Linked DNA regions of Homo sapiens: regions 2, 3 and 4 are each linked to region 1. The links are contacts of gene promoters, found by promoter capture Hi-C in blood cells and fetal thymus (Javierre and others, 2016). All regions are on one chromosome and are shown on one strand. The core of a region is centred on a gene start or on the middle of the fragment in contact, and the rest is flanking DNA. Distances in the headings are between cores, read along the strand shown. Region 1 holds the start of ATG4C (autophagy related 4C cysteine peptidase). Region 2 has its middle 1.7 kb from the start of GADD45A. Region 3 overlaps SERBP1 (SERPINE1 mRNA binding protein 1). Region 4 holds the start of MYSM1 (Myb like, SWIRM and MPN domains 1).

Region 1 (3,119 bases), core at 440-2,939:
ACTCTAATAAGTGTGCCATTTGTGATCTTATCATATCCTTTGTTTGTTGTTTTGTTATTTAGCTGTCCAAGTACATGAATAAAAAATAAATAGATCCAGCTACCTGTTTCTGTGAGAATAAAAAAAAATTTAAACCACCAAATCCACTAAAAAATTGAAAAAATTTCAAGTTTAATTTTGAACTTTTCAACTCTTCATTCTTGAAGGTTTTCATTCCCATGTGGTTTCATAGTCCGGTGGCATAGACTTCATATTTTATTTTTAGTTTTTAGTATAATTTCCTATGTAATTCAGAAGCATGTCTGGTAGTCCTTGCTCCAACAAAATCTGCGGTACTGTAAAACGGCATAGGATTACATTTTACAGTAACAGTATTTCTCTTGACATCATTTAGGAGTGAAGATAAAAATTTCCACTTATTTATTTATTTATTTATTTATTTTTACTTTTTTGAGACAGGGTCTTGCTCTGTCGCCCAGGCTGGAGTGCAGAGGCACAATCTTGGCTCACTGAAAACTCCGCCTCCCGAGTTCAAGCGATTCTCCCGCCTCAGCCTCCTGAGTAGTTGGGACTACAGGCGCGCGCCACCGCACCCGGCTAATTTTTTATATTTTTAGTAGAGACGGGATTTCACCATGTTGGCCAGGCTGGTCTGGAACTCCTGGGCTCAAGTGATCCGCCCGCCTCGGCCTCCCAAAATGCTGGGATTACAGGCGTCAGCCGCCGCGCCTGGCCAAAAATTTCCACGTTATAAAAAGCATCTTCGGACCGTCCTTTTTTCTTTCTTTCTTTTTCTTTTCCTTCTTTTTTTTTTTTTTTTCCCCACAAAGCCTCGCTCTGTCGCCCAGGCTGGAGTGCAGTGGCGCGATCTCTGCTCACTGCAACCTTTGCCTCCCGGGTTCAAGCAATTCTCCTGCCTCAGGCTCCCGAGTAGCTGGAATTACAGGCGCCCGCCGCCACGCCCGGCTAATTTTTTAATTTTTTAACAGAGACGGGCTTTCACCATGTTGGCCAGGTTGGTCTCGAACTCCCAACCTCAAGCGATCCACCCGCCTCGGCCTCCCAAAGTGCTGGGATTACAGACGCGAACCACCGCGCCCGACTGTCCTGTGTTTTAATGCTTGAAAATAATCTGAATATGGAAAATGAGTGCACATATCCCTTGATGTTTTATAAATAACCTACAGTCCTAATAATGGCTTGGCTTAGAGTTCCTTCACAACAGGAAAAGAAGGCATCCTGGCTTTTTTTTTTTTTTTTTTTTTAAATCAAAGTGAGGCTTGGGTTGGCTCTATCTTGGTCCTGAGTGCGAGGAAGGAGGGCCGCAATGCATGCTGGATCTTGCAGTTCCTACGCCAGAGGCAAGGGCGTGATGCTGCATGGCCTGCTGGTAGTTGAAGTCCAAGTGCTCGAGAGGAATTTATGGCAGCCGTAATGTGGTTTGTCTATCAGAGAGACAATGCTCACAGACGGATACTTTCTCTTGGTTCTGCGCTTGCTGCATTGGTGGATTAGCGGCTTGGGGTGGCGAACAGGTGGGAAAAAGGGATGGATAAAGTAAGCATAGCAGAGGCCTTTACGCCGCTGCTATCGCTACTGCCAATCGCAAGGCTTTCGTATCCCGGAAGTGGCTGATCTGTTGGATTTGACGCGGAGGCGGTTCCTCTTACTACGGTGGCCGGGGTGCTCAAAGTACCTGTAGCTGCGGCGCTGAGGTCGGAACGTCTGCGTGTGTGCGGGCTGGTTTTGTGGCGGCTGCTGCTAGAGCTGGAGCATTTGCCGGGTTGGTGGCTCCTGCACATTTTTACAGTTCTCCAGTCCTTCTCTTTCGGTGAGGGATCGGCTTGAGGCTAAAGGAGTCAAGAAGTTTGGGACTTAGCGTCTCTGGTCCCCGAATGACTGGGTTTCTTGCGGGGGTCCGCCTTCAGTGAAGACCCTGTGGCCAACCATCTGGGTTCTCTGAGGGTTTTGGCGCCTTCCTTGTCTCTCCTTTCTAGTGTCATTTGTCTTCTAACTCTTCCTCGCTTTGTCCTGGGTTGCAGAGATAAACCGTAAGCCTAACTGTGGGCAGCTGTTCCTCCTTTCCTTGTGGTTTTCTTAGATGTTGCAGGCAAGACTCTTTCCCCTGATCTATCGCATCCATTTGACCCCTCCTCATGCCAGTGCTCTGTCGGCCCTGTTTTTCCTCGTTTAAAAAATAAAAAAAGGGAAATAATAATAATAACTGGATCCCCACTGTCTCTCTGTTCTCATTCCTAGCCTCTTTCTCCCTTTTTGGTGTTTGTTACTGCTTCAAGCCATAACACACTGCCTTGCATATATTAATGCCTTTCCATCTAAATATTAACGTTCATTCACTTCATTTGGTTCCCGCTCACCGTGAACTCTCCCAACCCTACCCACATCTAAGGGCTTTTGAGGTTGGAGGTGTAGAATAAATTCTTACATATGATGACTATATTCATATATGAGAACCTTCAGCGGTCAACTCAGCATCACTGCTTATTGAGTTTATATTTCTTGTGATTTCTTTGGCTTACCTTTTCGTTTTGTATTGGTTATTTACCCACATGGGGCTCACTGCTACCCTATAGTTACAGAAGAATACCTCGTCTTACATCTTTTTATATCCGAATTACTTAGGAGTTTTCTTATGTTTTCCTGCTCGGACCATATGTCCCCGGTGGGTTTTTGGCAATGATTTTGTGTCAGTTGATGGCAGAAAGAGACAAGGGAATGATCTTCTTGCTTGCTTGTGACTTGTAATTAGATTATGAGCCATTGAGAATACCCAGAGGGAGTGGAAAGGCTTTGAAAGGTAAAGTCTATGTATTTTCTGAGTTTCAAATTGATAAAGCTTCTTCTTTGAACAGGAAGAGTTTCTATTTAGTCCAATAATCTGAGGCTATATTGAATTACCAGTTCATTCGCTATAAAATTTTTAGAACCACATGTCAAAAAGTGGCCCATCTAAAGAATTGTATAATTTAGCAAAAAGTCATTAAAAGCCATTTAATTAATGCTCTTTTTCTTTAAAATAGGATTCAAGTATTTGGAAAAATGTATTTATGGTGATTGGTTATGAAGTATTTCTAGATGTTTTGATGGTTCTGGTGAAC
Region 2 (3,119 bases), core at 381-2,880, 4.9 Mb after region 1:
TTTTTAGTAGAGGTGGGGTTTTACCATGTTGGCCAGGCTGGTTTTGAACTCCTGACCTCAGGTGATCCGACCTCCTCAGCCTCTCAAAGTGCTGGGATTACAGGCGTGAGCTACTGCACCTGACCAGGAACCTTATGATTTTTAACAAGAAAAAATAATACAATACAATTCTAGGTAGGTGGAAAATACATCCATCATAGTTGAACTGATCTTCTCCTTTGATGTGGACAATGATCTAATACTGAAATAACAAGCATTATATTTCTTTCAGATGTTAAAGCATTGATTGTTTTTTGAAAGAAAGAAAGAATAATTCTGCATTATGGAACCAGTAGTAGGAATGTATGTAGGATAAGCATGACTAAAATATCAAAAAGATCTTTAATATGCAAAGCAAGTAGCAGTGCTAAAATAATTGAACAATTCTTGAGTATATATTTCCATATGATTTCTAAATATAATCATTTGGTATCTTTACAAACATTACTACAAGAGCATTCTACTCCTGTGTACTTGGCAGTTGTCAGAGTTACCTGTAGTGGTTTTTAAAATGACATCACATATTGGAGTTATCACACTGATTATAAAGAAATATATATATATATATAATATTGATATAGGAAAATTTCTCTGATTTACCATTGACTATCAATGTCCTCCAGGACTAATAAACAGTTAATGATAAATCAACTATGTCCATTCTAATGTGTAACTACAATCTAACTGTGTAGCTAAATGCAGTTTTTACTTCCAGTCATGAGGCCCAACTTTGAAGATAATCACTGAGAAAACATTCTAGGTATACTCAGCAATCAGGCAAAATGATGTAACGTATCTGAGTCAGAAAGTATGACAAATGAATATTTTTGCATACTGGAAGCCCAAGCTTATCTCAGAGAAAATCCCCAAAATACTTGGGCAAATAACTTTCTGATGAAGTCAAATATAGCATGCAGTATAATTTTTGAGTGGAGGACTAAGCCTATAATAAGAAGTAACCATTTGATATCACATTTTTACTGGATATAGTCGACTTGGGTGGGGCACTTTAGGACTGTGGTTCATTTGAATTGGTGTAAACAATACACCGGTTCTACTGTCCTACAGCCTCCATTCAGATGACTGAAGTCATGGGACTTTCAGCATAGCTAGCTGATGACAGTGCATACTATTTTGTCCCAAAATCCAGTTCAAGCATGGACATACCAATAAGAGCCTAAGCTCTTTAAAGGCAAAGGACCAGGAATTGTACAGTTCTTGGTATAGAAGAAGACAGGCAAAAGTGTTTTTGAACTAACGTTAAATGTGCAATATGTTAGAATTCATGCAATGCACAGGACTGCAGGATTCTGATATCTTATTTAACTCTCAAATTCTATTCAACTCAATAAACCTTGACTGTGCTTCTACTAAATGCAGGTATTGTACTAGGAGCTGAGGACACCAAACTGATGAAGTCCTTGCTGTCAAGAAACTCACATGATTCCCTAATTCTTTGTCAGCTTGCTGTGATCACATTTTCTTCCCAAGAACCTCTAAGAAATGCCTAGTGGATAGAACCTTGGAGTTCCACGGAACATATTAACAATCGCCAAATGATGACTCAGGCTAGATTGTGTAATTCAGGTTTTGTCTGCAAAACTGAAAATGCTTCGGTAACCTACCTAAATTTCAATGTTGAGGAATTCTTTAAGAAAGACATCAAATGTTAAGATTTAAGGCATAGATATGAGATACATAGTCATGCTTAGGTGAATTATGCACTGACCATGACCATTTCTTTACTCAAATGTTGTCCATGGCTGACAACACAGTGAAAAAATGAGTGCAAAATGACAACTCAAATAAATGAACCAGAAAACCTATCACTTTTCTTTTCCACCAAATTAAGATCAAGAGAGCTGGAGAATATTTTGTCTAGAGTGATAAAAACATAAGGGTGCAAAACTTCCAGGTACCTTTGCAGAAATTACTTCTGTGACCTTTGGCTGTACAGCAACCTTAATAATGCAAGCACTGTTTTGAATGCAAGCATGTGGGAGCCATTTTCACCACTTTTGATGACTTCAGTAGGTTTAAGAAATGTTTTTGCTTTTATTGCATAAACCATAAAACAAAGGAAGGGACTTTTGAACTACTCAGTGAGAGTCTATATATTAAAGTTTGTTTTTCAAAAATGTGTAACTACCATTTGCAGTTTTAAAGGTCTGCTTTCCACCTACAAGTTGCCATTATCTCAAAGGTGAAATTTTAGCATATGACTAAAAACTTCCTATAGTTACAGCTTCATGATTCAGCATCTAACATCAATAATTCACAGTGAGATCATAGGAGGCTCTCTGTGGAAGGTAACGACATACATACGTTAGGAAAGGAAGCTTAGGGCATATCGAGAGCATTTTGAATTTAGACTTGTGGGCTGTGTGGGTGTCAGATGGTTGTCTCTCAGCTGGTGGGCGTCCAGAAGGATCCTTGTTTGGGCAAGGCTCTTTGAGAAAGGAGAATCTGGGTTGCCAGGGATTCCCACATGTGGTCACCAGCTCCCCACGCAGACCAGCTCACGATTTCCCAGTTACACCGGGCAGGTGGGAAACCGTTCTGCTTTCTGTGGAAAAGATTCTAACTTGGTTCCCTGCCATCCCTGAATACAAACGGGTTGGTTTTTCTTTTTTCAGCTTCCAACCCTTGCAGCTTTCCAAAAATAAATCAAACCAGCCATCAGGGCACCGAAATAATACTACTGCTAATAAGCAGCTTCGCCTAGACTTAGATAAACAACACTTCTGAGGTAAACTTTGCCCCGGAGGTCTGGAGACACTTTTTTAATGTAACCTGCTTACTAATAATTACTAGACTTCAGTGCATTAACCCTGGAAATAGATTTTAATAGCCACCCCTTAAAACAAAAGACATGAAAAGATAATAAGAAAAAAGTGCCGCAACTATTATAGAAAAACACTTGGCAGCCTGCTTCAGCCCAAGCTGAGGCCACCTCTAGCCTCTGCTAAAGCCCCCCACTCCCAATGGTCCCCGCCAACCGGATAAGAGTGCGCGCGGGACCCGCCTTCCCCTCTCGGCACCGCCCCCGCCCCCGCCCCCTCGGCTCGCCTCCCGCGTGG
Region 3 (3,119 bases), core at 391-2,890, 4.6 Mb after region 1:
AAATAAATAAAATAAAAACAATAAACTTATTTTAAACTTCTATTTAAGTTTGCCAAGTTCTCCCCCTCAAAAGCATTTTCTATAACTGACTTGGAAATCATTTGGGCAACCATTATTCCCGTCACTTTCCAAGATAGTCTCTTAATAAAAACTTTTAAATTTAAAAAATTTTAGGCAAGCAATACATTTTGGCTTTTAAAATACCAAAGAAAATACCAGCAGCCATTCATAAATAACCAAGCAAATCAACACACTCACTAGATATGGCCCCTCACAAAAGTGAGGGCCGCACTATGTTATTCTATCTAATCTGAAAAAAAAATGCAATTAAGACTCATAATTCTATAAAATTACAAATCTGAAAGGAAAATATGGCATTTAGGATTATTAGAGAACATCACTTCAGTTTAAAACAGCCATTTAACCAGAAAAAGTGTCATCTTTTGGTCTTCTTAGCTACAGGCACACAAAAAGGGCCATCTTCCCCTATTAAAGTTTAAAATTTTATAGCATGTAAGTGTATATATGTTTGTACACACTCCCACATCCCTAAGTACTTCCAAGTTAGGAAACAGTTACTTATTATGCATGGAGAGAGTCCTCTAAAAAATTTGCCCTAACAACTATCTTTATTTTCAAAGAATCTTTAAAAACCAAATACACACACGTTAAGACCGCTTTTAAGCAACATGTAAGAAATAAGAAAACTTGTGACACTAAGTGATAGCTGAAGCATTTACTAATTTCCCCCTTTACTACTTTTTTCCTGTAATGTCTGAAACCCCACAAAGGCAACCAATTTAAATTATTGGTGCCCATAAGGATCAACAGATTGATGGTTAAATTAATGACTTTAAGATTGTTGGTATGCTCTAATTCCCAATTTCTGACAAAGTCATAAAGCAGCTGAGGAATTGGTTTTACAAGATTTTAAGCTGCTTCACTTTGGTTCTTTCTAAGAAAGTAGAACACCATCAAGACACACCCAGTTGTTCTGCTGCCTGTTAACTGGAGCCAAACAGTAACTATCAATCTCTTCAATAGAATTTTGAAGTTCATTCCCTGTAAATACTCAAGATAGACTACAAATATTAGACCTTACACCAAGGTATTTAAATAAATGTCATCAGTAATAAAGTGCACTGGGGTGGAGTTATGGAACCAGTCCTTGCAATAATATCCAAGCCAAACACACCCAAGTGAACAATAGTTGGCGTCCCCACCCAATATCAAGTTTACAGAATCTTAAAAACGTATTAAACCTACCTAATGAAAAAGACTGACATTTAAAAATGCAAGCTTCTTTTGATATACTTATCTATAACTTGCAAGCTCACTAACTGCACTAGTTTCAAGGCATTCATTCTTTTTTAGAAAATCCCTGGTCTACACTCTCAATGACATTCTGCTGTCAATTCTCAAGTTCTTCAAATGGGCAAGAGAATGTACAAAATTAATTCATAAAACATAAACATTAAATATCTGTCTAAAGTATGTCAAGTATTATGTCACAATGTGTTATCAAAATCACAGAACACAATCAGGTTAACCTTCCTACTACATGCAGCGACTTTGTTTACAGATTTATTCCCAGTAATCAGGACAGTAGAATCTCAAAACGGGTATTGTCCATTCAACACTTTTCCTGTATTTTACATGCTTGTATTTTATGCAACTTAACAGTAGTGCTCTGAAATACTGACCTAAGGAAAATGCTGATTGCTAACATGGAATAGTTTTCCCATGGAAAGACTCATTGAACGGTGAACCTAAGTCTTGGTTCTAACTTCATGAAATCATTCCCCACATTTGTTAACTTAAAATACTACTTTTCAGGTAAGAGCTTATTTCATAGATGGGCTTCATGATCAAAATAACTCAGGCATTTAAACCATGCTTCATGTTTTGAACATTCAAAATGAGTGAACACATCTACCTGGTACACATTATTCGTCAGATTCAACTTTTTCGTGTACTTTCTTAAGCTTAAGCATAGTTTAAATAATTACACAAGTCAGCGTTACTTAACACACGAATTAAATGATTTATTTAATTGTGCTAGATTGCCATAAAGCTTAACTGGCTGAAGAGATACTTGGCCTAAGTGATATACATGCTTTCTAATACTCCAACTGTATTTTTCCTCAACCTATAATTTTACCACAAGAATTAATTATTTTCTTTTATTCACCACCTAGGACCGAGGTTCTTCATTCCGAGCCTCACAAAAGTCCTCAAAAAAAAAAAAAAAAACCCTCCTAAAACAAATCCTACCACGAGAAAATTGTTTTGATTTTTAAAATTAGTTCACTGTTACAGAATTCAACTAAAGCTAAAGAGAAACAACTCCTTTCAGAGAAGCACGTGGCAGGAAGGGGTAATTTCAACTTTCAACATATAAATGCAGCTTTAAAGATTCAGACCTTAGGTCCAACACCTGCTTGCTATTGATCATGCACGTTCTTATCTCCAAACTGCTTGCTCTTTTTTTTCATCCGCAACAAACTGGTAAAGCGAATGCAAAAATCAAGACAATCCTGTGAAACTCACAGTGCCCTAGAAACAACTATTAACCGCCAGTGAAACTCTGACCATGCTTCACGCACATGTGGTGGAAAAAAAAAACTGCGAACTCTAAAGAGCTCTGCTGCGACTAACGCTGTGACAGCCTCTGCACTCACTTCACCCACGAGGCCCAGACCCCACCACGTGAAAGATTCAGTTTGGGGAGTCGAGAGAGAGGATCGTGACTCGAGGACGTTCCTCGGGATGTCCTGCAATCACCAGTCTTCATTCATAATTCCCGCTCCTGGTTAATCGAGTGTGGCCAAACTCCTCCATTTCCCAACGGCTCAACTCACCCCAGCAAGTTATGAGAAAGTCCTAACAGTTGAGAGGTGGAAGAGAAACAAATAAAGGACATGCGGCACCCCAACCTGCAGCTTACTCCACACGTCTGATGGCCTGGAACGACCCCCTGCTTTTCAGCGGGGATACTCCGCGCCGTCGTGGGACAAGACGGCAGGACAGGAGCCTGAAACAACAGCACCTCAAAGGAGCAGCTCTGCGCAGTAAGCAGCGATGGACCCCCAAGCTCCTCCGTAACTACGGAAAGCTTC
Region 4 (3,119 bases), core at 419-2,918, 4.1 Mb before region 1:
CTGGCCCAGAATATAATATTAATGATACTCCTTGGGGTTGTATAAGACAATAATTGTAACCATCATCAGGAACCAATAACCTTTGTAATCCTGCTTGTTACCACAAGTGCCACCAGTAGACCTAGGCCTCAACTAAAATAGGAAGAAAGAGAAAAGGGGAAAAATGAAACACAATCAGAAAGATAAATCTATGGAAGAAGCATACAGCCAATGCCCTCAGGTGACCAATCTTCAGTGTTTCCAAGGCCAGCTCATTTCTTTCTAGACTGCAGATAAGTATCCCTGCCAACCTATTTCATTAACTTGTTGCGAAAAGTAAATTAAATCAAACATGCAAAAGCACTTGGTCAAGATTTAAACACTAAATGAATGTCAACAAGTATTGTTATTAAGGGCTCCCTACTCATCTGCAAAGCTTTGAGGGACAATGACCATATGAGTTTAATCACCCCTCACGTCTTTATAGGGCTTTAGAGTTCATGATACACTTCTAAACACACTATCTTAGTGCCTCAAGCGCTGGGTTAGTACTTCTCCCCTGTTCACAGAGGCCCTAATATTAGGCTGAACTACATGAAGTTGCCGCTTTATAGAACAAAAATGGTCTAAATATTGGCAATTTCATATGGTTCAAGCTAATACAGTTCTAAGGAAATTGTACATAATTATAAACAACATAGCTGGCTGACTTTAGAACTCAGGCTTTCTGATTCCTGGCTAGTCTAGGACTCTTCATGACTAAAAGGAGACTCATTTTTGATTCAGAAAGCAAGGAGTCAAAGGAGGTTCTGTGTCAAATCACACTGGGCTGTTTGTTCTGCTGGAACAGGTATTTTAAAAAATGTGATCCCTTACTGGATTCTCACAGTACTGTCCCCGAGGGTAACAGGATGGTAAAGAATACATTCAGAGGGCACCTACCGTATGCTAAAGCATATCTCATAATCATTTCATTTGATCCTCCCAATTACATATCATGACTCCCAGTTTAAATATGAGCAGTCTGAGGCTCAGACAAGTTAAGTGTCTTGCCCAAGGTCACATTGCTATTAACTGGTAGGGCGAGCAAATGCAGAAGGAAAACCCAGAACTGTCCAACTCTAAAACCTGGCCCATTTAAGTCAACCTGCTTCTCGGGAAGTTTTACAACTATCCCCATGTGGAAGAAGGGATGAAACGACTCGCCCAAGGTCACACGGCTAGCAAGCCATAGAACAAGAGTCCCTGACCTCAGGTCTCGTCCGTAGCCGCTCTTGTTCTAGTTACTGTCGATGAGATCCTGAAAAGGAGGGAACGGAAGAAGGAATCTAAATGTAAATCAAACGCAATGTGGTAGGCGAAATCGGTGCCCTCACAGCATCCGGCAAAAGGTGAAAGCGACCCAGGAGTACCTGAGCTCCAGGTAACCGCCCTGCCCGCTGGGCTTGGGACAAGCCGGCGGGCGAGGTGCCTCCCAGGCCAACAAGAGACCCTGGCCCAGGGGACAGTCTTCTGTTCCCTTTTCCCTTGCCGGACCTGCAGCTTTCCCAGGGCCCGCTCCTTCAATCCACTCCCCTCTCCGCCCCAGAGAGACCCGGTCTCTAAGCCTCACCCTGGCTGTGCCCCCGCCGCCGCTACCACGTCCCCTTCGATATCCACATCCGCCTCTTCAGCCGCCATGATGGGACCTGACCCCGTCCGTCCTCCCGAGAGATCCCGCGAGACGAAGATGGCCCGGGGGCAGGGCCTAACGCGTCACGGGGCGGGATTGAAGCGTCGTCCGGCCCCTCCCGTGCCGGGAGGCGGGGTTTCCAGAGCAAAGGCGCCCCCAGAGGCCTGGGGCTTGGTCCTTTCTAACTTGTTGACATGTAGAGACCTTGGGAAGTGGCCCACGCCTGAGCTTTTTTTTTTTGAGAGGGAGTTTCACTCTTGTTGCCCAGGCTTGGGTGCAATGGCGCGTATCTCAGCTCACTGCAACCTCCACCTCCCGGGTTCAAGCGATTCTCCTGCCTCAGCCTCCCAAGTAGCTGGGATTACAGGCATGCGCCACCACGCCCGGCTAATTTTTGTATTTTTAGTAGATACAGGGTTTCACCATGTTGCCCAGCTGGTCTCGAACTCCCGACCTCCCGACCTCAGGTGATCCGCCCGCCTCGGCCTCCCAAAGCTCTGAGATTACAGGCGTGAGCCACCGCGCCCGGGCCCTCCTGAGCTTCTAAGAGCTTCTGTTCTTGCACACATTCTTTGGGACCTCACTGCTCTCACTGATAAAATGGGGATAACAGCAGTATCTTTCTGGACTGATGAAAAAGTCAAGCTAGACCCGCTTTGTGAACTGAAGGTTGCATACCTGCTGGTTATTTAAGTCTCTCTCTTTGTTTTTTAAAGAAAAGGGTCGTGCAGCACTTATGTGAAGTCGTTCAGCATTTCACCTAAGTGCTGAACAACTTTTATTTTAAAATTCAACAAATATTTAAGAATATAACTTATGATTGTGTAATTTATTTTGTAGACGTCTTTGCAATTTAAAAATCACGCTCATGACCATTAATCCTTACAGTGTCCCAGTGAGGTAGGCAGAGCTAATATCACCAGTTATACTTTACAGGTGAGGTAACTGAGGCCTGGAGAGCTGAAATGACTGTCCAAGGACAGGTAGCTTCAAAGACAGAGCCAGGAGTAGAATCCAGGCTTTGTTGACCCTCTACTGAGTGCTCACCATGTAACAATCATGTTGTTAGAAATTGGAGGATAAACACCACTTCTGTCTAGTTTATAGTTTCTCAAGAAATTAGATACTGACAGCCAGATGCGGTGGCTCACACCTGTAATCCCAGCACTTTGGGAGGCCAGGGAGGGCGGATCACAAGGTCAGGAGTTCGAGACCAGCCTGACCAACATGGTGAAACCCCGTTTCTACTAAAAATACAAAAATTAGCTGGGCGTAGTGGTGGGCAACTGTAGTCCCAGCTACTCAGGAGGCTGAGGCACAAGAATCGCTTGAACCCAGGAGGCAGAGGTTGCAGTGAGCCGAGATCACGCCATTGCATTCCAGCCTGGGTGACAGAGCGGGATTCCATCTCAAAAAAAAAGAAAAGAAAAAAAAACCCTTCTGCATTCCCCTGCCTTAGCAGCTATCA

The links. The method cuts DNA at HindIII sites, captures the fragments that hold promoters and counts their contacts. A CHiCAGO score of 5 or more calls a contact.
Region 2: a contact is called between a fragment that was not itself captured here and the fragment with the promoter of ATG4C in region 1, in 3 of 17 cell types (total CD8 T cells, non-activated CD4 T cells and naive CD8 T cells). The highest score is 6.8, in total CD8 T cells.
Region 3: a fragment that was not itself captured here is called in contact with the fragment with the promoter of ATG4C in region 1 in 1 of 17 cell types (non-activated CD4 T cells); the score reaches 7.3 in non-activated CD4 T cells.
Region 4: the fragment with the promoter of MYSM1 here is called in contact with the fragment with the promoter of ATG4C in region 1 in 1 of 17 cell types (naive CD4 T cells); the score reaches 5.2 in naive CD4 T cells.

What each region holds. Positions count from the first base shown.
Region 1 is chr1:62,782,443-62,785,561 of GRCh38, forward strand. ATG4C (autophagy related 4C cysteine peptidase) reads left to right here and starts at 1,690. Exons shown (of 11, transcript NM_032852.4): 1 at 1,690-1,831. RefSeq lists enhancers at 1,391-1,440, 1,541-1,600, 1,721-1,900 and a silencer at 1,876-2,170. The HindIII fragment of the contact is 3,523 bases long and covers 1-2,855 here.
Region 2 is chr1:67,681,916-67,685,034 of GRCh38, forward strand. No RefSeq gene overlaps it. Among named protein-coding and RNA genes, the nearest start is that of GADD45A, 1.7 kb to the right of the region's middle. RefSeq lists a cis regulatory region at 695-1,187 and a silencer at 2,950-3,119. The HindIII fragment of the contact is 1,492 bases long and covers 885-2,376 here.
Region 3 is chr1:67,426,500-67,429,618 of GRCh38, forward strand. All of the region lies in intron 1 of SERBP1 (SERPINE1 mRNA binding protein 1), which reads right to left. Among named protein-coding and RNA genes, the nearest start is that of SERBP1, 2.3 kb to the right of the region's middle. RefSeq lists an enhancer at 2,440-3,076. The HindIII fragment of the contact is 686 bases long and covers 1,298-1,983 here.
Region 4 is chr1:58,698,394-58,701,512 of GRCh38, forward strand. MYSM1 (Myb like, SWIRM and MPN domains 1) reads right to left here and starts at 1,669. Exons shown (of 20, transcript NM_001085487.3): 1 at 1,592-1,669. The coding sequence starts at 1,659. RefSeq lists enhancers at 1,164-1,223, 1,434-1,843. The HindIII fragment of the contact is 3,791 bases long and covers 414-3,119 here.